Regions from separate parts of the Homo sapiens genome. Here regions 1, 2, 3, 4 and 5 are each linked to region 6. The links are contacts of gene promoters, found by promoter capture Hi-C in blood cells and fetal thymus (Javierre and others, 2016). All regions are on one chromosome and are shown on one strand. Each heading gives the region's core, a stretch centred on a gene start or on the middle of the fragment in contact. The rest is flanking DNA. Distances are from core to core; before and after follow the strand shown. Region 1 overlaps STXBP4 (syntaxin binding protein 4). Region 2 overlaps STXBP4 (syntaxin binding protein 4). Region 3 overlaps PCTP (phosphatidylcholine transfer protein). Region 4 overlaps STXBP4 (syntaxin binding protein 4). Region 5 overlaps STXBP4 (syntaxin binding protein 4). Region 6 holds the start of MMD (monocyte to macrophage differentiation associated).

What was found. Contacts are between HindIII fragments. The CHiCAGO score rates a contact against its expected background, and 5 or more counts as called.
Region 1: a fragment that was not itself captured here is called in contact with the fragment with the promoter of MMD in region 6 in 5 of 17 cell types (total CD8 T cells, erythroblasts, total CD4 T cells and 2 more); the score reaches 7.8 in total CD8 T cells.
Region 2: a contact is called between a fragment that was not itself captured here and the fragment with the promoter of MMD in region 6, in 3 of 17 cell types (erythroblasts, total B cells and naive B cells). The highest score is 5.4, in erythroblasts.
Region 3: a fragment that was not itself captured here is called in contact with the fragment with the promoter of MMD in region 6 in 1 of 17 cell types (monocytes); the score reaches 6.0 in monocytes.
Region 4: a fragment that was not itself captured here is called in contact with the fragment with the promoter of MMD in region 6 in 1 of 17 cell types (total B cells); the score reaches 5.8 in total B cells.
Region 5: a fragment that was not itself captured here is called in contact with the fragment with the promoter of MMD in region 6 in 10 of 17 cell types (non-activated CD4 T cells, total B cells, naive CD8 T cells and 7 more); the score reaches 11.9 in non-activated CD4 T cells.

What each region holds. Positions count from the first base shown.
Region 1 is chr17:54,998,680-55,002,966 of GRCh38, reverse strand. It overlaps STXBP4 (syntaxin binding protein 4), which reads right to left. Exons shown (of 18, transcript NM_178509.6): 5 at 3,516-3,622; 6 at 3,125-3,335; 7 at 2,084-2,159. Among named protein-coding and RNA genes, the nearest start is that of STXBP4, 32 kb to the right of the region's middle. The HindIII fragment of the contact is 2,518 bases long and covers 6-2,523 here.
Region 2 is chr17:55,046,005-55,050,488 of GRCh38, reverse strand. It overlaps STXBP4 (syntaxin binding protein 4), which reads right to left. Exons shown (of 18, transcript NM_178509.6): 12 at 3,335-3,400. Among named protein-coding and RNA genes, the nearest start is that of STXBP4, 79 kb to the right of the region's middle. The HindIII fragment of the contact is 551 bases long and covers 2,037-2,587 here.
Region 3 is chr17:55,770,684-55,774,730 of GRCh38, reverse strand. PCTP (phosphatidylcholine transfer protein) reads right to left here. Exons shown (of 6, transcript NM_021213.4): 3 at 3,546-3,625; 4 at 836-1,007. Among named protein-coding and RNA genes, the nearest start is that of PCTP, 22 kb to the right of the region's middle. The HindIII fragment of the contact is 3,553 bases long and covers 1-3,026 here.
Region 4 is chr17:55,027,694-55,031,717 of GRCh38, reverse strand. It overlaps STXBP4 (syntaxin binding protein 4), which reads right to left. Exons shown (of 18, transcript NM_178509.6): 9 at 454-550. Among named protein-coding and RNA genes, the nearest start is that of STXBP4, 61 kb to the right of the region's middle. The HindIII fragment of the contact is 1,057 bases long and covers 1,030-2,086 here.
Region 5 is chr17:54,981,744-54,985,758 of GRCh38, reverse strand. It overlaps STXBP4 (syntaxin binding protein 4), which reads right to left. Exons shown (of 18, transcript NM_178509.6): 2 at 68-145. Among named protein-coding and RNA genes, the nearest start is that of STXBP4, 15 kb to the right of the region's middle. The HindIII fragment of the contact is 5,509 bases long and covers 8-4,015 here.
Region 6 is chr17:55,419,432-55,423,432 of GRCh38, reverse strand. MMD (monocyte to macrophage differentiation associated) reads left to right here and starts at 1,598. Exons shown (of 7, transcript NM_012329.3): 1 at 1,598-1,763. The coding sequence starts at 1,738. RefSeq lists a silencer at 1,198-1,657. The HindIII fragment of the contact is 12,161 bases long and covers 1-4,001 here.

The sequences.
Region 1 (4,287 bases), core at 15-2,514, 420 kb after region 6:
AAGCTTTCCTTCTGCTCTATAAACATGACCTAGAATATTATCTGAGCTACACTCTAAGCTATAGGTTCCATATTATTAGTAACAGGAAAATTTAGTAAGCATATACTATGCACTAATTACAATATAAGTGCTTGACATGCAAGATCTTGTTTAATCCTCATAACAACTCCTTGTAACTTGTAACTATTTCAAGGTTACAGAGCTAATAAGATGAAAGCAAGAACCTGAACACTGAGTCTGTATTCAGAGCCTGGTGGTAACCACTGTGCCTTCCTTATACCATACTCATAGCACTCACTACTTCCTTCCTTAGGCCTCTTTGTTCATGTCTTTACATAATTTGTGTAAATGTGTTATTCATCCACAAGACAGAATGCTTTTTAGAGTAACAAAACCACCCATATCCTGCTCTGATTAACACAAAAAACTGCAAATAGTAGCTGCTTGATAAAATAAACATACACACACATCTATAAACAAATACATGCATATAAATTAGAATGTTTCCTAATTTCAATAATTATAATTTTTAGCCCCATGTTTTATTTCACAATATACTATTAAGTATCTCACAGAAAATATCCTAATTTCTTCATAATTCCCGTTGTACTGTATTCTACACATATAACATAGTAAAACCTTACTGAATAAAAGGTTAAAATAGGCATTGAATAGTTCAATTACTTTAAAAGTTAAAAACATGTTATATAATTATTAATATTTTATAATATCAAGGAATAAAGGGTTCTGACTTCCATCATCTAGCAATTTTGATGCTCATCTCATGACTGTTTCATTTGTCTTTTTCTTCTCATAAGGGTTCCCAGTTTAAAATAAATACAGTACATGCAGAGACTGGAAATTAATTATGTAAGAGGAATAATGCTATAAAGTTGGTCAATAAATCTAAGTAAAAGGTAATATAACTCATGGCTTAAGATTGCTATTAACCCACTGGTAAATACCACCCCAAATCGGAGGAAACTACTGTGGAATATAGTATAAACTCCTGTAAAGATTGGTAGCTATTGAGCCAGGCACGAGCGGTGGCTCACGCCTGTCATCCCAGCACTTTGGGAGGCCAAGGCAGGCAGATCACGAGGTCAGGAGATCGAGACCATCCTGGCTAACATGGTGAAACGCCATCTCTACTAAAAGTACAAAAAATTAGCCGGGCATGGTGGCAGGCGCCTGTAATCCCAGCTACTTGGGAGGCTGAGGCAGGAGAATGGCGTGAACCCAGGAGGCGGAACTTCGACAGAGCAAGAATCCATCTCAAAAAAAAGATTGGTAGCTATTTAATTTAAATTAATGCTTCCTTATTTTTCAGTTCTTATATAAATAATGCTATTAAAACAAAATTAAAATATACAGGTAAAAATTTACCTTATAATTAGGCATATATAATTAGTTTTTCAGTTATGTTTAGTCTTTTTATCATTGTTGTGTTTAACTTTTGGAGATAATTTCAGGGGGCTTTTTTTCTTCGTATTGATCCTGTAAGCACCTTATAGCCACATAAAAATCTTTATTTTACATTTGGCTTAGATAATTAACGCTTTATTGTTTTAAAAAGTCAGTAAATCATTTTATGGTAATTAAGAATCAATAATAATGAATTAACAATACTGACACCCTTTATAATTGATATCCATATGATTTCTTCCAAAAAAACAAGATACATTTCTTTTCTTAAGGTATGCTCCCTTCTATAATGTGTTTTCCGAAAGGTGTATTTAATATGCCTCATCAGTATTGCACTAAAAGGACATGGCAACCTAATCTTGATCTTTATAGAAGACTTTCCATTATTTGATTTAAACAATTCATTAATTATTACAGCTTCATAAACACTGTTATGACAATGCATCTTTTGAAACTTCAACTCTTTGTTCAGGGAAATATCTAATAAAAGTCATACTTTAACAGGGCCCAACGGAAAGACATTATTTTTACTTTTTCGTTCACTGAAGGAACAAAGACATAATTCACCCTTCTTCAAAGTCTTAAGTCACATTACACACTCCTCATTGAGAGAGAATTGAAATAAAAAACAGGAAATAGAAATTAAATGTGTATTTACCTGTATTAGACAAACCCACAGTACTGTTTTCTGAAGTAATTGGAATCTGTACTGTTTTGTTGTATCCAGTTTTTATCTGTGAAAGAAAATGAGGAACATGCAATGTCATTTACTAAAGTAGGTCACTTGAAGCCCATGTTAACATAAAAAGAATGGTTAAAGAGATTAAAGTAATTATCCCTCAAATATGAAACCTCTAAAATTTTGGTATATGCATCTTCAAACAAAGCAATTCAGAATTAAAGGTAACAATTGCTTTCAGCTCTACCACATCCAAGGATAACAAAATATAAGGCCACTCATCTTGTCTTTTAAAAGTATTATAGCTCCAAGTGACAAAGTATAAGGGGCTGACAGAAAATCTTATACTCTGTCTCTGTTCAGCATGTACCAGAGACTGAAGTTACCTTTGATGAATTTTATTCTACTGACTAAAAGCTTAAGTTTCCTATTTTACAGCTAACACAGATATAAATAATACACACTTTATTCTGTAACTGTAATTTGTTCAGATAATATAGCAGTTAGTAATTGAGTATGTTAATTCTGATATAGAAATTCCCCATTTTGTGTGATTCTACTTGGGTGAACTATAGCATGCACACATGAAGGAGCAATACCTTCTTAGATTGGATGCCTGGGATTAGCCTCACTGTGTGGGAAAGAAGCTAAGGAACAAAAAGGAAGATGGCCTCACTTCAGTCAAGCAGAGAACAGAAATGGCAAATAACTAAACCAACTGAAACCAAATATGACATTCTTAACATAGTTTTGAGTGATATCTAGGCATATCTTTGTGGAACCATTTTGTCATGCTGGTATTTTCTAACCAATCATGCTCCTGGACACAGGACATGCTGACTTAAAATATGTTTATTGAAAACACAGCATAAAAATTTTAAATAGAAAAAAATCTTTCAAAGAAATATTAATTTGTTAACAATTTTACTGAAATAATTCTATATGTACATAACCAATGTAAAAATGTATAGGGAATTTATGGAGTGCATATATAGAGAAATTTAAGATTACCTGACTTACCTCACAAGAAGATAAAATGTCATTATTTGTTTTGGGAGTGGATGAGGTCTTTGGGATTAGTATTTCAGGAGGAGAAGAAAAAAGACTTAATGTTGAGGCTTGAGGTCCATATTCTCCTGAAGCTTCTATAAGTGATGTACATGACAGATTTTCTGGCTGAATGTTGTCGGATTTTTGTCTTATGAATGCTATCTCCCAAGCAGATTCTAACCTAGTACTAAAAAGAAATCACTTTATGGATATGCTATGAATATAGTACAACTGAAATCCAAGATAATGTTTCAGATGTTATTAAAAAATACTTATTATAAAGTACTTAATACATCTTAAATTACTGCTTTCAAGGAGACATTCTAAATGACTCATTCTATCTCATGGATAGTATAGTTACCTCAACTTGGCTCCGGTAATTATGCTTTTTGCTTCTTCAAATGATACACCAATCATAGATTCCTTGTTGACTGAGACAAGTTGATCTCCTGGCTTCAAACGACCATCCTAACAAAAACAGTAACATTTATAAAGGAACTAATGAGGTATTTAAAAAAAAATTAATTGATGTAATTAAAGCAATGAAAAGTTTTCGTGAAGAATGCCTTCAAAAAGAGTAAAAAGTAAAATCTTAGACAACCTCAGTAGCAAAATCTCTTGATTAAAGTCTGGTTTGGTAACATATATTATGAGTAAAATGGAATGGTTCATGTATTGCATGAATAAATTTACGTGGTAAAGAATTCTTAATATGGTAGGTAGGACATAGGCCAGTATACCAGGAAAAGGGACCTGTTTTAAAAACTGAGCACTATGGGGCTGATAAAGCTCTGACTCTGTGATAAAGTGGGCCAAATAACTGTGGGATATTTCACAATACAAAACTCATTTATTTTATTTTCTCTGCATTCCTACATATGTCCTCCCACCAAACTGTTCAATGTGTGTGTGGATTTATCCCACATTGAGATTTTTAAAACTTTAGTCAAGGGTTTTTAAAAAAAAAAAATTAAATTTTCAAAATTTTTTGTAGAGATGAGGTCTCATTACATTGCCCAGGCTGGTCTCAAACTCCTGGGCTCAAGCAATCTTCCCACCTTGGCCTCCCAAAGTGCTCGGATTACAGGTGTGAGCCACTGCGCCTGGCCAAGGATTTTAATTATATTGATCCT
Region 2 (4,484 bases), core at 1,063-3,562, 370 kb after region 6:
CCCCCAATGAATGTCATCATTCTTTAGACGGTTTGACTTAATGATTTTAGAAGCTAGAAGTTCTATGGTAGTATAGATTTAACTGGCATTTCTTTTATTATGAGAGAAAGAGATTGAGTATCTTTTCATTTGTTTAATGGACATTTTTATAGCTTTTTTGATGAATTATCTGTTCAGGTCTTTTGCCTATTTTTCTATATAATTTTGGTTTCTCTTTAACTATTAAAACTTCTAACTGGTTATTATTTGTGTATATGGATGCAATTTAGTTTTGCATCTTAATTTTATATCTTGCTAGCTTATCAACTTACTGAGTTACTTTTATCACTCTCTAGGGTATTCCAGATTACTACCATATCATCTGCAAAAAAAGACAGTTTTATTTTTTCTTTTCCAAGTCATATGCCTCTAATTGCTTTTCTAGTCTAACTGTATCTTCTTTTTTGTGCCATTTTTATTAAGTTTATACATCAACGCTATACTTGCTTCATGAAAAGAATTTGGAAAATTTCTTTCATTTTTTATACCCTGAAACAATTTATATAGTTTTGAGACTGTCAAAGGTTTGGTTAAATTTCTCTGTGAAACCATCTTGCCTGGTCCTTTTATCTAGAATAGTTTCTTGATAACTTACTTTATCTCTTCTACAGAAAATGGCCTTTTAGGCTTTCTATCTTTACTCCGGTCAGTTTTGGCAAACTATATTTTTTGAAAAACTTTTTAAAAAATAGGTGAGTTGATCTTATTCATGTTAATTAAGATAACCATTATGTTTGGTTGCAGTTCTATAAAATTTTCTTATGTTGAAATTATTGTGTATATTTACTCATTTCTTTGTGTGTCCTTTTTACTTAAAAAATTCTTTTTGGTGTTTATGAAGGTTTGTATTTTCATTCTATAGGTTACCTTTCCATTATTACTTTTTAAGTGCTTGCTATCTCCTCTATTTTTACCTAATTTTTATCTGATATCAGTTTTAAATATTTATTGACTGCTACGCTTTGCTTATATAACAAAATGATGTATTCTGTTTTCCTCTTTTTTCTTTCTTATCCTCCCATTAAAAAATTTGCATCTTTTGACTTTTGTTAACACATGTAATGTTCATGCTATTTTTTTCATCCATGCACTGACTCATTTTAGTCTCACCTGTACAATAAAATATATGAAGTTCTCACCATTTGGGAACATTTTCCAAAGTTATTTTAGGCATTTTTTAGTTGGATAAAACTCATCCTATCTGAAGGTCTTCAGGAATATCATGTGTGAAATATTCCCTTAGTACTGGTATATCACAAACTGTTTTCTATGGCCTTGATATTTTAAAGTCAGGTTGGCTATATAAAACATTTTTGTATACTTTCTTTCTTTCCTTTCATGTCCTGAAAATGTTGTTCCACTATTGCCTTACTTTGCATGTTGTTTTGAGAAACCCAATGCTGGTCTAATTCTATTGCCTTCATAAGTTGCTTAATCTTTTTACTTGGAGGCAGTGTGCATTTATTTTCCTCTAAAGTCTAATAATTTTACTAGAATATATTGTACAGTAATCTTTCCAGGTCAGATTTCCCCAGTACCTATATTAGATTCAGGTCTTGTTTTAATTATAGAAAGTTTTCTTGGATTATAGTTCTAAGTATTAGGCTGTTCAGTTATTTTGATTGATTTCTTTAAGAAACTCTTTTACTTCTTGATTATATTTTCACTTTCCTAGTTGCTTTTCTTGTTTTCTTCATTGCCTTTTCACTTGATTATATTCTTCCTGGAGCAACTTGTAATTTAGTTTTCATTTCTGATAGGATTTTGTCTCTTCCTTCTTTCCTAAGTTTTATCAACTCTCATTTCACTTTTTCCTGATTTTTTTGGGGGTGATCAATATCTATTATTACTATTTTTTAAGTTTCTCATTTGAGATGTGTTTTTCATAGCCCAAATGCTTATTTGAGGAAATTCCCTTGAGTATGGAGTGTGACGTTACATTTTTCTTAAGTTTTGTGGTTAAATTGTTTTGGAAAGTTTTCATCAGGAGGAAAGCTTTCATTGATATCATCTGACTTTTTCAGTCGTTTTATAATGATGGAGATAGAATTTTTGTTCTATACTTTTTTATTTCACAGAAAAAGTTCTTAGTTCAAGAGCACTCTCTTCTGTGCAGTTTCTTCTATGGATCTTGTTTTGATGGTCATAGGGTAGGGTGGGTGGATTAATAAGTTGTGTTCTGCTTTCATTTCTATAAGCTCCTTAATTTTCCCTTCTTATTTCCTTCTTTCCTATCATTGCGAAGTCTCCAAGGAATTCTATCCATTCTCTATTGATCTGGTTCTTCCTCAGAAACAATGATTCTTCAAGGCTGCCATTTTTGATTGCATTCATACCTTGAAGTCTCTTTTTTTGTAGCTAGTGCTAAGAACCACCAAGTCTTGACATACGGCCAGTATTTTGGCATTTATGTTTACCTTTTCTCTTTCTGGGGGTGATTTTGTTTGTTCTTCATCTAATTCATAGTTTCTCTCTACTCTTTATTTCAGAATTTTTCAAGCCTTGCCTCCTCTGTTCTCTGTATTCCAGGTTTCAGTAAAGGCAAGCTTCAGAAGTTTTGTTGGAATTATTATTTTTCTTGTTGTATTTATATGTACTTTAAAGGCTGTGGTGTTTTTTTGTCACATAGTCATATTCAAAATATGGGTCCTGTATGGTTCTATCTGCTTTCTTTGTTGATTTTATGTTTTCTAGGGGGACTGTGTGAGGGAGATTCAAAATCAGGTGATCACTGTTGATCTCTAACAATGTTCTCTTATTTATATTTTGTCATTTGGGTTTTCATTTTATGATATTGTCATATATTTGTTTTATAGTGAGCTACCTCAAATTCTTTGAAGAATAATGCAAAGTGAAAATAAATATTTGCTTTTTATTATTAACAAATAAATGTAAAAAATGCTCTGCCTTGATGACTTTTTTGTTCTTTAGTAAAATGAAGTATGAGTAACAAAATAAAAAAGAAAAAGAAAAAAGGGGAAATGAAAGAAAAGAAAAAACAATGGAGAAGTAATGAGATTGGTTATTTTGGTCTATGGATATGTTTTTTTCAAAGAAATTTCAAAGAGGTTTTAACATTGTTTTGAGCAATAGTAGCAAGACTTTAGCATAGGTACAGCCTCCAAAAGTGATTGCTTTTAAGCTCTGTGCTATTTTGTATTATGTAATATGTATCAGGAAGCTCTGGGATATTGTAAAGAACCACTGCTTTATAATTATACCTCATATGTTCACACACACACACACACACACACACACACACACGAGCACATATATACACAATACATATACTTACTTGTTTCACATTCTGGAGCTCTTCTGTCAATTGTTTCCTTTGCTTATCTGATTCCAATAATTTTTCCTATATTTAAAAACCACCAAATTAACAACTTGTTATGAAAGTATTAACAAGTGTGACTTCTTAGTCCCTTGTTTCAAGGCCTATATTCCCAAATATCAAATTGCTACAATCTGAAAATATTGCTCCTAGTCATTTTTCTGGCTTTACATGAGGCACTTAAAAGTAATTAGTTATTTACAGTAAATTGTGATGTAAATATACTTTTTATTACCTTAATTTTGCAAAATCTCAAAATATAAGCTCTAACAGAAGCCAGTTAAGAATACAAATGTGTAAATATTAACACAATTTTGGTTAAGCTATCATTGCCAAAGAGATACCAAATTGAAGAGCATTATTATTACAAATTAGAATTAAAGGTCTTCGACCATACAAAAGAGGGCATATGAGACTGGCTCACCTCTTAATTTCCTAATTTAATTTTAGCTTATTCTTGGAAGATTATCCATGAAAAGGCATATATGACTAATGTAAACAAAACATAAAATAATAGTTATTAAGATTAATATTATACATACACATAAAATATCTTTGGATTTGAAATTAAGTCAAGCATATACCCTACGATGTCCATTTTTATTAATTATATCTTAAATAAATTCACATTTTATTGGTCAAATCAGAAATACTAAGAGTAATTTAAGAGCCATTAAATACAAACCTGAACAGAGGAATTGCTCGAACATTAAATTGAGTGGTAAAGATTCATGGCAATATTACAATGTTTAAAAAAGGCAATATCCTTTCTGGTATATTTCAGCTTATTCTTGTCTAAGAGGTGAAATGAAGGTATATGAAAATGAATATAATATGGCAATCTAATGACTATGCCACAGGAGCCAAGAGACTGCTGGCTCCTGTGATTTTATGTTCTGGGAAGTCACCTTCACTCTTTGTGCCCTAGTTTTTTTGTATCTGTAAATGGAAAATATATCTATTTTCCATTCACCTTTGCAAAGCAGTAGCAATGTGAATTCTGCAGAAAGCCTTCCTTAAATAAAGCCCACAGCACTTTTAAAAATTATTCTTGCAAGATAAAAATTAGCTATTGACATAAAATTATCTTGGTTTCATTTTTATTTGT
Region 3 (4,047 bases), core at 1-2,500, 350 kb before region 6:
AAACTGTGCAAACTTTATATCTTCATATTCAAGCTCAGAAACTGCAGAGGGAGGTAGCATATAATTCAGATGGACTTCTCTCCATTGACTGCCCTTATGGCATACTTAAATATAGGCACTTTTGAAAACAGCCATAGACACATTTTGCTGCTATTTATTAAATACCTGGCAAGTGCTGGACACTTGAATATAGCCTCTCATTCAATTATTCTAGCAATCCTAAGGAGATGGTAAAATTAATCCCATTTTATAACTGATGAAACAGATACTCATAAAAATTAGGTGACATATTCAAGGTGACCATCTAACTATAGTTCAGATTTTTGCCTAGGACTCAAGGCCACACTCATTCTGGTAGAGCAGGTGGCCTCGCACCCCACTCTCTGTCTGCAGCTTTCCTCCCTGGGGGCTGAAACTCAAGCTGGGCAGGTCTTGAGTAGCTCTGAGTTGGTACTGAGCCAGAGCTGAGACCTCCAAGACAAACCTGCCAGCTTTCTTGCCTACCCTTAGGCCCAGCGTATGTATCCACAGGACCAGCTGGAAGTGACTTTCTAAACTCTCTGGCTTACTTATAATGGTCTGGTTTCATCTGGACAATCCATGAGTCTGGAGAAAATAGACTGGGTCAGAGTTAAACATCAACCTCATACTCTACTCAAGTTTGTTGGGGTGGAATGAGGCTCTCTCTAGGTGCTGATCCTGGTTTGCTCTGCAGCTTTGCCTGTCCTCTGACCTTCAGGGATACGCTTCATGTACTCGACATGTCCCCCCATCAGCCTGGCCCTCCCGTGGGGGACCCCTGGCTGGGTGCACTGACAGGCACCATGGGTTTTACCTTTGCTCCCCTTCTTGCCGTCACTCTCGATCGCCAGGCTCTGCTTGTATTGCTTCACCCGGATCACCCCAGACCTCTCGCCAAGCTGAGGCATGGAGGTGCTCCGGGCCAGGATCACATGGATCTTCCTCCCTTCCATGTCCAGGTCTCGCCGCTGCCGAAGGTAGACATACTGCATAGCCAGTTAAGGCAAGACACCAACGCCAGCATTGTAGACAGACAGAAGGAAAGCGCCACAAGCTGGAAGCAAAGGGAGGTGATTCTGTGCCTCCCACTTGGCATTTGCTCCTTTCTACCACTAGTTCACTGACGTGCCCTGTCTCCATACCTGCACTGCAAGACTGTGCCTCACACCACCTAGTATTCTCACCAAAGAGCATGTATTACTTACCTGTGAGTGATCCCTTCATGCTTTTAATTATGTGAGGAAACCACATTTCCTTTCTCCAAGAAGGCACTGGGAGATGACAGAGGAATGGTCACTTAACAGCTGTGTGGTCCTAGGTAAGCTACTCAGCCTTGCTGAGACTCAGATTCCCTATGTAGGAAAGGGAGTAACACTGCCTTGCAGACAGGCTTGGTGGGGGCATTAGAGAAAGACCTGGGCAGAGTAAGCACTCGACAGACAATGGTGTCATTCCTCTTTGTTCTGGCCTCACCCAATGCTCTAATTACTGACCTTTATGCATAGTAAATGGTCAAGCAATGTTACAGCTGATGACCATAGGAAGACATGGGACTACATGAATATTTCGTAGGCAGATGTCCTCTCTGGGCTAACACTAGTTTACCAAGAATAACAAAACCATTTCATGTCCATCAGCCTTGACAGAAGAACCCTTAAGTTTACGGCACTATTCTAGGGAGGATAATGAAAGTCTATGAAACAACAGGAATCACTACTTATCGAGCCTTTATCATGTAACATCATGCACTTGACATACAGCTTAAATTTGGATCCTTACAAAGACCCTGTGAGTTTGGTATGAGTATCCCCATACTACAGATGACAAAAGTGAGGCTCAGAGAGGAAAAGAACCTTGCCAAAAATCCCACATCCCAGCTGAAGTGATGAAACATGAATTTTTATCCCAGATCTGGCTCCAAAACCTACTTAGAATTTCATAGTTGGATGGAGCTCAGATATTTAGTTTGTTAGTTACACTTTCATAAAACAGAATTTTGGGTTTCCCACTCAAAGGAATCAAAAACCTAAAATAATCAAAAAGTCACTACGCACAACACAATTACACTTACTATAACATGGCAGCCGTCTCAGCCTCCACCCACCTCAGTGTCTTTTTTTTTTTTTTTTTTGAGACAGAGTCTCACCCAGACTGGAGTAGAGTGTCACGATCTCGGCTCACTGCAACCTCCACCTCCTGGGTTCAAGTGATCCTCCCACCTCAGCCTCCGGAGTAGCTGGGATTGCAGGCGCCCACCACACCCAGCTAAATTTTTTTGTATTTTTAATAGAGACAGGGTTTCTCCATGTTGGCCAGGCTGATCTCGAACTCTGACATCAAGTGATCTGCCCACTTTGGACTCCCAAAGTGTTGGGATTACAGGCGTGAGCCACCCGCGTTCAGTCCCACCTCAGTGTCTTGACAGCGCCCCCTGTTGCCCCACCCTCACATTGGACAGTCTATTGCTCCATGCTCTTATACACTAATAAGTAAAGTTCTTAAATGTTTCAGGAAAGAGATGTTGATTTGTCACTGGGTTCCTTTCTCCTACACCTTTTACTTTTTCCTTTTAGCAAATATTGTTCCACTCTCTCCCCCAACTTTCTCAGCTCATGTGATAGATATCATCTGATACTCCACGGAGGAAGAATTATCTTGATATAGTGATTAAAATTTGGCAGAACACCTTTGAAGTGTTGGCAGTTCATCTAATTCAGTGGCTTCCAAACTTTTTTTTGACTCCAAGAGACCCTTTGCTAAAAGGATCTTACATGGAAATTGAACCTGTAAAACACTCCGCTGCTGGGATTGAAGAGCATGGTGAAGGAGTCAAAATCTTACCTAGGAGTCATCCTACTTCCATCCTACCCACCCCCAAAATTCCATCCTAGCCCCCCAGCTTAGTCCTAAGGGGGCTTCTGAAGACCTTACAGTGCCAGCCAAGCCTCCCTACATTTCATTCAACTGCTTCATTTCATAAACAAGGACATTGAGGGGAAGAAGCTTACAGTCAGTGTCCAGAGCCAACAATCAAGGAGGGATTTCTGTGGGGTCTACTGAGATGGGGGAGGCGGAGAGAGCTGGAAATGCAGAGGCCTGAGTTCCAGCACCTGCTCTGCCACTAACCACCTATGTGCCTCTGTCCTATCACCTCTTTGGGAGCCCTTTTTCCTTCTGTAGACTGAGGGAGCTGTAACAAGCACTTTTTATAAGAAGTTCCTTCCAGATCCCCAATTCTGTGGCCTGACAATTTCAAGGCCTAGGAAACTTCTTAGGAAAGTAAGAGCTGCTCTCCAGTGACCAAAATTACAGACACTTCATGTGGTTGGGCCCAGAAATCACACTCTGAGCTCTCCAAACACCATACAAGAAGCAATATCTTTAGCAAATGCTGCTGCAAGAATCAGAGACAATGTTATCTGTGCCTGCTGAGAAACCAGCTCTACCTCTCTGCAATAGACTGCAGCTGAGGAACACAGAAACACTTAGAGGGCCAGGGAATGAGTACCTTGTGGAAAGGATACGTCTCTGTTGGACATGGGAAAAGGGTACTTCACTTCCCAGTAGACCACAGTCTCTCCGTTGCATTCTTGTTCATAGAGTTCTAAAGGAAAGCAAAAGAAGTTAATGCATCTGGAAGCCTTTTTAGCTACAACTAATAAGGGTATGACCTCTTAGGCCAAGCATGGTGGCTCATGCCTGTAATCCCAGCACTTTTTGAGGCCAAGGTGAGTCAATTGCTCAAGTCCAGGAGTTCAAGACCAGCCTGGGAAATATGGTGAAACCCCATCTCTATATATAAAAAAAAAAAAAAGCAAAAAAATCAGCCAGGTATGGTGGTGCATGTCTGTAGTCCCAGCTACTCTGGAGGCTGAGGTAGGAGGATCATCCAAGCCTAGCAGGTCAAGGCTGCAGTGAGCCAAGCCATGATTGCACCACTGCACTCCAGCCTGGGTGACAGAATGACACCATGTCTCAAGAAAAAAAAAAAAAAAGATGACCTCTTAGGTTATGATAAACCACTAA
Region 4 (4,024 bases), core at 309-2,808, 390 kb after region 6:
TGGGTATATGCAGGGGTCCGGGAAACAATTCCCCTCCCATACCAAGGGATGACTCTAATTAGGTAGCATCATAAAAATATTTACTATATTATATTAGCTGAAAAAGGATTCGAATTAATCTCACAGTAGTGAAATTAGAACTTCCATATTTTGTACTGTTTCTTTTGTTATTACTAAAGCAATGTTTATGCAATAAATAAAAAATAAAAAGAATATGACAGAATGATGATATTTTAGAGCTGAAAGGTCCTAATGAAATTCTTCTTTCTGCTGACCCTGCCAGGTCAGTAATTCTAGCTGAGTTCTTTGGGTACTGATTAAGGACCTTGAAATGGATGTAGTTTTACTTTTCATTCTCTCCTTCTAAAGAACAAACACTCTTAATGAAAATGTGTCACCATAACTCTTGAATGATGATTCAGTGATAATACAACACAATAAACCTAATATTACCTCCAAAAGACACTGTCCCTTTTGAGTCTGCTTGTACTTGCTGTCTCAGGGCTTGGTGTTGTTCCTTTGTGGGCTGAATACCAAGATAATTTAGAGCCTGGAAGATAAAGGACTCATGAAAAGCAATTTTTCAAATCTCCAAAGAATAAAACTTTTCATTACAAACTTTACAACCCAGGGAAAATAATCAATACCAGAAACAGTCGACCAGGATTAAACACCCAAGGGAAGTCAGCTCTTTATGGATTAAGTGCCTATTGAAGATTAGCTTCCTGATTTTACTACTACCTCATTTTTTCCCCAAGACTAGCACTTTAGCTAATACCAAATTTATGACATTGTCCTAGAACCAAAAATCAAACTATTTCTTAGTTTATATGATTTGGCACATGTAAAATGGCAAAAGAATCCTACTACATCAGATTTACAAGTGACACTCTAAAACATGAATTATATTTGGTTAACATCTTGCCTTTGAGAGCAGAACTGAAGTTGATAGGAATTAGGTTCAACATAAAATCTTCTAATTTTTGGCTTGTTAGGGGCAGGCTTACACAAATAGTAAACTAAAAAGCTTTCTCTGCCACTTACTTCTCTCTTTCATCAGGCTCTTCCCCTTAAGGGAAAAGTTCTTTCTCGTTTTGGTATCCATTAGTGATTAAAAATTCAGAGACTGTTAATTGTATTCCAATGTCCATTCTCTCCTTGCTCCTTAGTAACCGAACCAACCACAATTTTCGGCTGAAAACACTGCCATGCAGCTAAAAGACATTTCCCAGCCCCTTGTACATCTCCATGCGGCCATGTAACTAACTAGGTACTAGCCAATGAGATACAAGGGGAAGTGCCATAGAGTACTATTAGGAAGTCTCCTTTCAAAAGTCGGGGTAAGCACTTCTTGTCCATGCGGATTAGTAAGGGGAAAGAAAGAGGAAGAAAAAAGATGAAAGGAAGGAAGGAAAGAAAGAGGAACTGATGGAATTTGAGCAGTTCTTTTGGTTCATGTGGTACCGCAGTAAAGATGGTGGAACAGAAAGATAATTGGAACATGGTCCCTGATACTCTGAAACCTCCACGGCAGCCCTGGATTACCTTCTTTCAGGCTTCTTTTTGGTGTGAAAGAAATTTCTAAAGGAAACTACTGTTATTTTGAGTTCGCCAGTTATATATAGCAAAATCTAATCTTAACTAACACAAAGGGACTAATTGGATGTCCTATTATTGGATATGGCAAGAGCATATATAGTGTCGATCACATCAAAACTAAAATGTAGGCAAAGTTTAGTATTGGTAATTATCTCTTACATATTTCTTCCTCCTTTAGAATCTCGTTCAATCATTTAGTAATTCATTCATCAAATAATTTATTTGGTGCCTACTATTTGTCAGCCACTAAACTATGCATAGGTGATAGATAAATGAAATATAGTCTCTCACCCCAAAGAGTTTACGGTCTCAAGGGTGAGAACAACTGTAAAGAAATAAGTAAAACACATAATTTAATAGAAGTATGTATAGGGTATATTAATACACAAAGCAACTGGTTAATCTGTAAGTGAGCAATTTGGGAACAATGAAAGAAGAATGGAGAAAGAATATCAGGAAAGATTCTTTCAAAAATGATTCTTAAGCTTAGTCTAGCATCATCTGCTTATCTCGTATAGTAGTCAAGTATTTGCATTGTATAACATGGCATAATGATTTTTAGCTTCTGTATTTTTTTCTCTTCAGTTATAAAAATGTTTCAAATATAAACACAAAAAATAATAATACAAAGAACACCTATATACTCACTATCATCAATTACTCATTGATATGTACTTAAAATTTATGTATATATTTTCAATAAATAAAACTATATATTCGGTTAAAAGTTTTTATAAATTATTCCTCAGCAGGAACTACTATCCTAAGTATTCTTCCTGGTCTTAATTTAATGACATTTACTACATAAGCAAGTATCCCCTAATAATATGTACTCTTATTTTGTGCATTTAAGCTTTTACCTCAAAAGCATAATCTTAAAGAGTAACTCTACAAATTATTTTTATTTTTACCTCAATTTTATGATTTCATAATTGCTCAATATTGTCTGCAAAACTAGTTCACTTATTTTAACTGTGAACAGTAATCCGTTGTATGAATTTATTGTAATTTATTATCCATTCCCTGATTAACAGGCTTTTATAACTACTCCAATCTGCTTTTTTTTTTAAATTACAGAACATTATACATGTCTCTTTGTAAAAATGTGTGAAAATTTCTCTACATTATATCCCTAGAAAAGGAAGTGCTAAGCCATAGGGGACATATGGTCAATTTTATTAGATATTGTTGAATTGTTCTCCAAACTGGCTTCATTAATTTATGCACACCAGTAGTGAATAAGCATTTCTATTTTTCTACATTCTTTTTTTTCCTTTTTGAGATTTAACAGCATCTGCTGTTTCCACTCTTATTTTGTCAATGTTGTATTTGAAATAGTATGCTGTTTGTTAATTTGAATTCCCCTAATTACAAGTGCAATTAAACATCATTTACATGTTTATTAGCAATGTTTTTGACTCACAAATTATTTAAAATATGTTTTAAATTTTCATACATGAGGTTTTAAGAAGTATCTTTACTGATTTTGAATTTGGTCTCTATCTTCCAGCTGTGACAACCAAAAATGTCTCCAGACACTGCCAAATGTCCCAAGAAGAAAAACTGCAGCCCTGCCCTTGAGAACCACTGCTCTGAAGACAATTGCCATATTAACAATTGGTGTCTAATTTTTCAGGTTTTTTTCTATGAATATAGTACCTATAAATTTATATAAATTGTGGATTTTTTGCAAAAATTGTCACACTATAGTGTTAATAATTATCAATATATTACTCCTTTCTATTCTGTACATTTTACAAATATTGCATGCTTTTTAAAATTGTTATGTTTGTACACTGTCTGAAGTGAACTTTTTTTAAAGCATTCTCCTTCTGATAATCATTTAGATTATACACAATTTTTCACTATGGAACACAATGCTACAAAGTGCTAGTGCTCTTTGCTTTATGCCAATGACTTCAGCAGCTGTAAGAATTATCTGGATTTTTTAAAAAATTATAAAATATTAATACAGAAGTTATAGGACATACTATAATAAAGTAATAGATATCTACTATCTTGCTTCATTAAAGCTTAGCAGTCAACTATATTTACTTCAGTTTTTGAATGTAACCAAAACATATAAAAACCCCTTTTGAACTTATTCCCAGAGGTAAGACTTATCATATATTTGATTTACTATTCCCATGAATTTTTTATTATATAATATTTGGTATATACTAAAAGCATATATGTAAAAAAACATGAGTTTTAAAGTAGGACAATAAAACACCTATGAATCCACTTAAGCAGCATAAAACTGTGAATACTGTTGGATTCATATCACAATATGGATATGGTATTTCACCAGAGGTAACCATACTAATGAATTCTGAACTATTGATTTCTTCTTTATCATTCTTGATCTGTTTATTTTAAAATGGTTTTATCACATACATATGTATTCCTAACATGTTACTTTGTT
Region 5 (4,015 bases), core at 1,513-4,012, 440 kb after region 6:
CGAAGCTTATAGTCAGAAAAATAATTATGCAATGCATTTGAAAAAAACTAAATTCTTATTATCTTACCAACTATCTTGAGACACTTCCTGCAGATCCTATATTACTCTGACTAATATTATTCCAGGAACTTCTTAAATGGCTTTCCTATGAAGAGAAAAAAATATGCTTTTAATGTCTTATATTGTTCCACTGTGAAAATTACAGAGAATAGTGGTGTCATTTAATTAAAACAAACTGTATTTGAACAGAGATTTACCACCTTTTCATAAGAACAATGAATGAAGCAAAGGAACTTAAAGTTGAAAAAGACACTAGGATCATTTAGTACAACTCTCTTCCTGAAGAAATGAGGAGCTAGATTCAGAGACTGTGTGGTTTTCCCTCACAAATGAAAAATAGTGTTTTTGTTGTTGTTGTTGTTGTTGTTTTTCTTCTCCTAACTAGAACTCAGGTTATAGTCTACAGGATGGACCTTGAGATCTGATAGGCCTGGGTTCTCATTTGAAATTTTGGGCTTCTCCAAGCCTCAGTTTCTACAGAGGTACAGTAGGTGCCTTGATTGTGGCGATGATTTCACAAATGGATACATGTCAAATGTAACAAACTGTCTCACTTTAAATATCTGCTGTTTGTTGTAAATCAATTATAGCTTAATAAAGTTAAACTTTTAAAAAACCCGATTTTCAGTTAAAAATGGCATCTTGACCTTGGCACATATATTCTTTCCCTCCCAAGAGCCAACTAATATGAAAGTCTTAGGGTAAAGAGTTACAAACAGTACAAACTCAGAATGTTGAAGAGTAAATGGGAAAAGAGCCATTGGATGAAAATTTTGAACAAGTTTTTGGAAGATAAAAAAAAGATGGTTGGGTGATAATTGGTAAAAGAGGGGTGAAGAAGCTGAAATTTAGGGCAGTGCTTCTTAAACATTTTTTAAGTCTGAGCACACACATAATGGTAATATTTGTATGGCATACTAAGGTAAAGAAAGCTGATATCCTCTGAAAAGCTGAGGAGAATCAATATATCAGCACATCAGCAACTGATTCACAACAAAATTCTGGCCTAGGAAACAGGTGCAGGAGGAACATATCTTAAAGAATCCCAGAGAAACTGGCCGGGTGCGGTGGTTCACGCCTGTAATCCTAGTACTTTGGGTGGCCGAGGCGGGTGGATCACGAGGTCAGGAGATCGAGACCATCCTGGCTAACACGGTGAAATCTCGTCTCTACTAAAAATACAAAAAAAATTAGCCGGGCGTGGTGGCAGCGCCTGTAGTCCCAGCTACTCGGGAGGCTGAGGCAGGAGAATGGCGTGAACCTGGGAGGCGGAGCTTGCAGTGAGCCAAGACCGTGCCACTGCACTCCAGCCTGGGCGACAGAGCCAGACTCCGTCTCAAAAAAAAAAAAAAAAAAAAAGAAAAAAGAAAAAGAGAGTCCCAGAGAAATTGAAGACTCAGAAACAAAAAGTTCTAGGGAGAACAAAACTGAGAGATTAAAGACTAAAATCAAGAGGATCATCCTATCTTTTCTTCAACCACTGTATGCAGAAGAAATCATAGATTCTTCCGTAAATTAACTGAATGGGCCCCAAACACAGAGCCAACTACTTTTGAGACCCTAACATAGCAATGTATTCACTGGTCTGGGTGGTAAAAACACATTTCGACTTTCACGCCCTCTGTAGTAGCAAGCAACAGGAACAGTGGAAGCATGCAGATCAACAGCAGCCAGAAAAATGAAGCCACCAAGCCACAATGTCAGTAGCAAAAGTCCAATGACCATGAAGTAAGAAAGTTATTCAGTACCCATGAGGAAAAGAAGGGCCACCTGAGGGAGGAGCTTAAAATCCTTGGGCTTTGACTAGTAGTCTCTCAGAGTCAAGAGCCACTGCAGCTGTCCACAAGACTGATATAGTCATGGAAGAGAGTTCAATTCTAAAACTAAGTTTGCATAAGTTCATTATAGACTGCTTTAATGATACACGCATGGAGCAGATTCTCAAACCTCAAGAGAGGTCATTCTCAAATAATAACAATAATAGCAACTACCATTAATTGGCACTATGTTTCACACACTATGTATTCCAAATGTATTTATTTAATATTGTGGAAAATGTACTAGACATAAGTAAAAAAAAAAGAAAAGAAATGCAGAGTTCAAATGGCAATACTGCCATGGGCTAGTAATATGGCATTAGAAAAATTGCCTAACCTCTTAGCATCTCCTCCTATTAAGTAAGGTAAGAATAGTAACACCTTGCTCAAAAGCAGATGTGAAAAACTGAGCAGTCTTTCTACTGGTACCAAAGTGAGTAAGATCCTCATCTTTGGTGAGTTGTTCTAACTGGACACAGGTCCCCAGGTCCCCTGGGAACATATTCAAGCCTAATGATGTATAAATGCTACTCTACAATAGATTCCATATAATATACTTAACAAGACATTTTAAAACATTTCTATTTTAAGGTTTAAAATAAAATTTAGGTGTTTATTCCATTCACTTAACATGCTGGCAGTGTCCTAAGTGCCAAAGATGAGATGAGATCAGGAGGGGTGAAGTGCTCTGACAGCAGTATACACAGGGAGTATGGAGAAAGGCTGCGTAACCTGGGATCTAAGTCATCATTAAACACGAATACAGCCAGGCACCATGTTACAGGATTTTCTTCCCACAGGAGCCCCACAAGGGAGGTATTATTAACCCAATTTTATACAAAAGAAAAATAAGTCATACAGAAAGTATGTGGCTTGTCCATTGTCACAGGCTAGTTGTAAAGTAGAGTTTGAACCCTGCTCTTTCTTGCTCCAAACCCAAGCTGTTTGTTTCTACTACAGTATGCTGGAAAATTAATTCAGGTAAAAAGTTTGATTCACCAAAAAAGTGGAATGAGAGAGTAAGGAGTGGTAATGTGTTATCTCTTTTATATAAAGATGACACTATTGATTAAACAGAAGTGGGTTTAATCTTATCCATCCCAACAGTGGTATTCATTGTCATGTCCTTAAATATCATAAAATGCCTGTCCTTTCCCTCTCCTTTGCCTGCTTCCTACTCTCTCTTTATACAAACTTGCAAGGCCCTCAGCCAACAGGGATTCCAGTAATGTTACATACACATACTCACCACACTCACACACACACACACACACACACACACACACAAACCACCCTCAAGTTCCCATAATTAATAAATAACACAGAAGGAAAACATTCTGTTCTTTTACTAAAAATATGAACATTGAAGACAAATATATTGTTATTCTAGTTTGGTGAATCATAAGAGGCAAACAGGTCAGCAAAAACAGAGAAAGTGGAACATTGGAGAAAAAAAATCTTGTTGTTAAAGATGAATCTATTCCAGAAAACTTAAATTAGAGCTTTTCTTTGATAAGTCTGTTTACTTATGATCTCATTAAAACAATCTTCATCCCATGTAATTAGAAATCTCATCAGATTAAAAAAATCTGTCCATAACGCATATGGTGTTTGAGTAAGACTTAGTAATTTATATTCTCAGACATGGTATTCAATAAAACCAGTTCTTTTCACTGGACAAAAAATAGAGAAAATAAAAGGGATAAAAATATCTTCTGCCAGAAATTATAGTAAATATTAATTTAATGAAATTACAAAAATGCCATAATGAAATTGATACAAATTGCCAAATGTCCCTCAGTCAGGGTTGTACTAATTTACTATCTCACCAACTATAGTGCCTGTTACTCTAAATTTTCTCCACTATGGTATACTAAATAACGTTTGGATTTTTGCCAGTTTTATTGATGAAAATGGTATCTCAAGGTAGTTGGAGTGAGGCAGAAGAGTTTTTTTATGCTTTAAGAACCATTCAGTATCTTCTTTTATGTGAACTGTGTTTTTTTTACATCTTTTGCCAATTCTTCTATTTATCGTTAGGTCTTTCTCTGTTCAGTTTCTAGGAGTTCTTAAATATTACAGAAATTATCTCTCTATCAGCATTAAGAATTGCAAATATATTTTCCCCCCTTTTCTTC
Region 6 (4,001 bases), core at 349-2,848:
AAGTGTATTGCTTTAAAACAGGGAGAGATAGTCTGACGTACTGAAAGGAGGTGGGTCTTTAAAGTTAGCGAAAGGTAGGTAGGAGCCTTACTTTTGCCTTTGGCAAGTTTATTGACCACTATAAGCCTCAGCCTTATCTGTAAAATAAGTTGGATAATGCCCATCTGGAGGAGCTCTTGGGAAGATTGAAGCATGGAAAGCACCTCTCTGGAAGGTTCAAGGAAAGGGAACTAGAATTATGGGTGACAGAATTCCCTGGCTTTCCAATGCTTTACTGTAGGTCGAATGAGCACTCCTAGCAGGCTGGCCTCATGCCACTTCAGAGTCTCTAGCCTGCAGGCTGGGGGCTGGGTATGGACACGATACCTGGAAGGGAACACATATAACTTCCATCAGTGATCCTGGAAAGGCTCGACAAATCACCCATTCATTCATTCTGTGTGTATGTGTGTGTGTGTGAGAGAGAGAGAGAGAGACAGAGTCTCACTCTGTCACCCAGGCTGGAATGCAGTGGTGCAATCTCGGCTCACTGCAACCTCTATCTCCCAAGTTCAAGTGATTCTCCCATCTCAGCCCCCCGAGTAGCTGGGATTACAGGAGCCCGCCACCACTCCCGGCTAATTTTTGTATTTTTAGTAGAGACAAGGTTTCACCAAGTTGGCCAGGCTGGTCTCGAACTCCTGACCTCAGGTGATCCGCCCACCTTGGCTTCCCAAAGTGCTGGGATTACAGGCATGAACCACAGCACCTGGCCCATTCATTCATTTTTATTTGAACTTCTCTTCCAGGAAGCCCTCTGAGTTTAGGTTTAGCGACAGGACCCTGATTCAAGTCAACTCGTTTATTTGAAAGCTGCCTGGATAAAAATAAAATAAAATAAAAAATAAACTGGAGGATAACATAAAAGGATCCTTGCAGAGGATTCCTCCTTTTGTGGATCTCACTGAATCTCAGAGTTAGAAGACGCTCAGAGATCTCAACTCCCTCAAGGGTCAGACAAGGACAGGTTTTTCATTCTGCCCTGGATCCTCTCACAATAGCCTCGCGGGAGCTGGCCCTCAAAATGATGAAGGAATAAATGAAAGGAGGGATGGAGAAATTAATGATGAAGAAAAAATGAATGAGGTAGGGCTGCTTGTTTGCTGCTATTTTCTTCACAATGCTTTTAAGATTTCCTGGTCCATCTCCTCCTTCACCACTTCTCTCCCTCCCTCGATCTCTTCTCCAACTTGTCTCTTACAGAAGGGCGCCGCGTTCCCGCGCTCCTCCCCTTCCCCTCGCCCCGCCCCTCCCCAGCGAGGCCCCGCCTCGCTGCCCGAGCCCGGCGGGAATGAATGGCAGCGTAGCCGCCGCGCCGCTCGGGGTGCCGATTGGCTGACCGGCGCGCTGACGCGCCGGCGACCGCGGGTGCACGCAGGCGAACAGAGCCGGCGGGGGCGGAGCCGGGCTCCGGGGCGGGGCGCAGGAGCCCCGGGGCGGAGGAGCCGGGGAGGCGGGAGGCGGGAGGCGGGAGGTGTTGGGGCCGTTGAAGCGGCCTCCCTCCCGCCCCCAGCCGCCCGGTCTGGCCCCAGCCCTGTCCCGACCCCCGGCCTGGCCCACTCCGACCCTACCCGGCCGAAGGGTTCCGCTGGACACGCAGGCGGCCTCCGGAGCAGCCCAAGCCCATGAGGGCCGCGCGCCCGGCCGCCGGTGCTGACGAGACGGAGCTCCTGGCCCCCGAGGAGGAGCAGAGGATCAATGCGGTTCAAGAATCGATTCCAGCGGTGAGAGGGATGGCGTCCCGGTCCCGCTGCCCGTGTCAGAAGCGGGTTCCCAAATCCCGCCGTTAAGCGCACGGCTCCCGGCTCCTCACCTGGATTCATCCTGGGTGGATCCCGCACCTTGGCCAGGGATCAGTTCCCTGGGGATTCCCCACCCTGCTGTCCCTGGGCGATCCCCTTCCTCCAAGGATGGGAGCTCCTGCCTCACCCGGGTCTCCCCTCGCGATCTGCGGACCTCAGATGGATTCCCGGCCCCGGGACTCCAAGCCTGTCCTCCTTCCCGGGGATCCCTTTGCTCCTGGGGCTCACCCTCCCGACCCCCATACAGGCTGGGCTCTGGCTCTCTCTGGGAACCCGAACCCCAGCCCCGGGCACCGCCCCCGAGTCCTCCGACCTGGCTTTGGCCTCCATCCCTTTACCTCCAGGGTGGGGGTCTCCCGGGGCGCGCGGAACGGGGTGGCGCCCTGCGGAGAGATTTGTCGTAAAGCGGGGTGCTAGGCATTTTGGGTGCTTTGTGAACGGCCCTAGCAACAGGGAAACTGAGGCACGCTCCGCCAGCTTAGCCCTGCCTGGCCGTGTAGGGGCCTTGCTGGTTCTCCAGCTGAACGTCCCAGGGCGGTGCTATTTTTGGGCTCTGCGAAGGGGCATGTTAGCTTTCGGGTGGCGAGACCTGCTGTGGAGGCGCCGGTGTTAGGAAACGAGGAGGAGGAACCGTGGAGGCGCCACCGGAAGGCTGGCCGACTGCTCATTCACTGTAGAGCTGGTGGAAATGCCGGGCTGGGGGGCGCCGTGGCCTTACTCCCCTCTGGGGCTCCACCGTCTAACAATGGATGGAGGTTAGCCCATGACTCTGAGAGGAACTCCGGGCTTTTCTTTTCTGTTTAAGTGGGTGAAAGTTCACCTCTCCAGGGCATATGGTAACTGCATCCCTTTGTGTGAATTCCCGGACCTTCACCACCAGCATGTTTGCTGGGGGTGCAGTGACAGGGGAAATTTTAAGAAATGCATGAAATCTTCCAAGAAGGTTGTTGAGTTTTTAGACACTACCTTTTATTTCAGAATTTTAAAGTACACATTTTTTTTTTCTTTCCAATCTCCATGCCCTCACTGCCCTCTCACCCATCTCATTCCTCCCCCAGTCCCAAAGGGTAAAGGAGGCAACAAATGCACAGAAGAGTTGCCATGGTCTGGGCCACCAGGAAGGGGATCAGCTTGAAGACTTGGATTGACTTCTGAATATATTGCTTATCAGTCAGGGTGTTGAATGCTTGGCACTGTTCCCCCAGTGGAACTTCATACCGGTGTGTCTAAGGGCAAAATGGAACCGTAGTGTTCTGACTTTAGAACCTGATGTCAGAAATGAAGACCGGAGGGGCTTTTAGAGAGAATGTAACATGCACTCCAGTCATGATCAGTGAAGCCCTGTGCATGCGGTTTGATTTGGTTTTACTTCTCTACACGTCTGTGCTCTTCCTGTTTTCAGAGAACAGTGGCAATATTCTGTGAAATTGCCCCTTCCTTGTTTGATTAAGAGTTTGTCATTCTTACCTATACCTTTGGATCCTCTAAAAAGAAAAAAAACAAACAAACCCTGTTCAATTATTTGTTGCACAAACGTTAAAACTGTTAAAACAACAACAACAACAACTTCATTTAGGATGCTACCCTCTCAGCTTATTGAACTGACTTTTTAATTATTTTTGCTGGACACTGATCTCTCCATTCCTTATTAGCACAGTTGTAATGTGATTTTTGCGCTATTATTCACTTAAAAACTAAAAATACAGGTATTTTCTTTTGGTGTGGCATAGACTGTAATTTTCTTGGGGGCTTGTGTGTTTCTCAATGGATATTTAACAGTTTCTTTCTTGATGACATCTAGATCTACCCTGATTTTCTTTGAAGATTTGTGTGATCTCATAATTTCTTGGTTTTCTATCATAAGCTAGGTTGGAAACATAGTTCTAAGCATCAATTTTAACTTGGAAATAAAGCCTATAAACAAAAAGTAATGTAATGAGAATGTCCTGATTTTTGTGGTTCACACATTAAAATGCTGAGAGTAGTACTATTCTGCATCTTTTAATGCTGTGTTCATGATATATCTTTCTGAGCATTCCCAGGTAGGTAAATTGCAAAGGAACTGGAGGGAGAGACACACTGTCTTTGAAGGGAGACATGCTTCCTCCCTCCTGATAGATTTATTGGGACTGGATGGAGGAGCATGAGGAGGGTTTATGC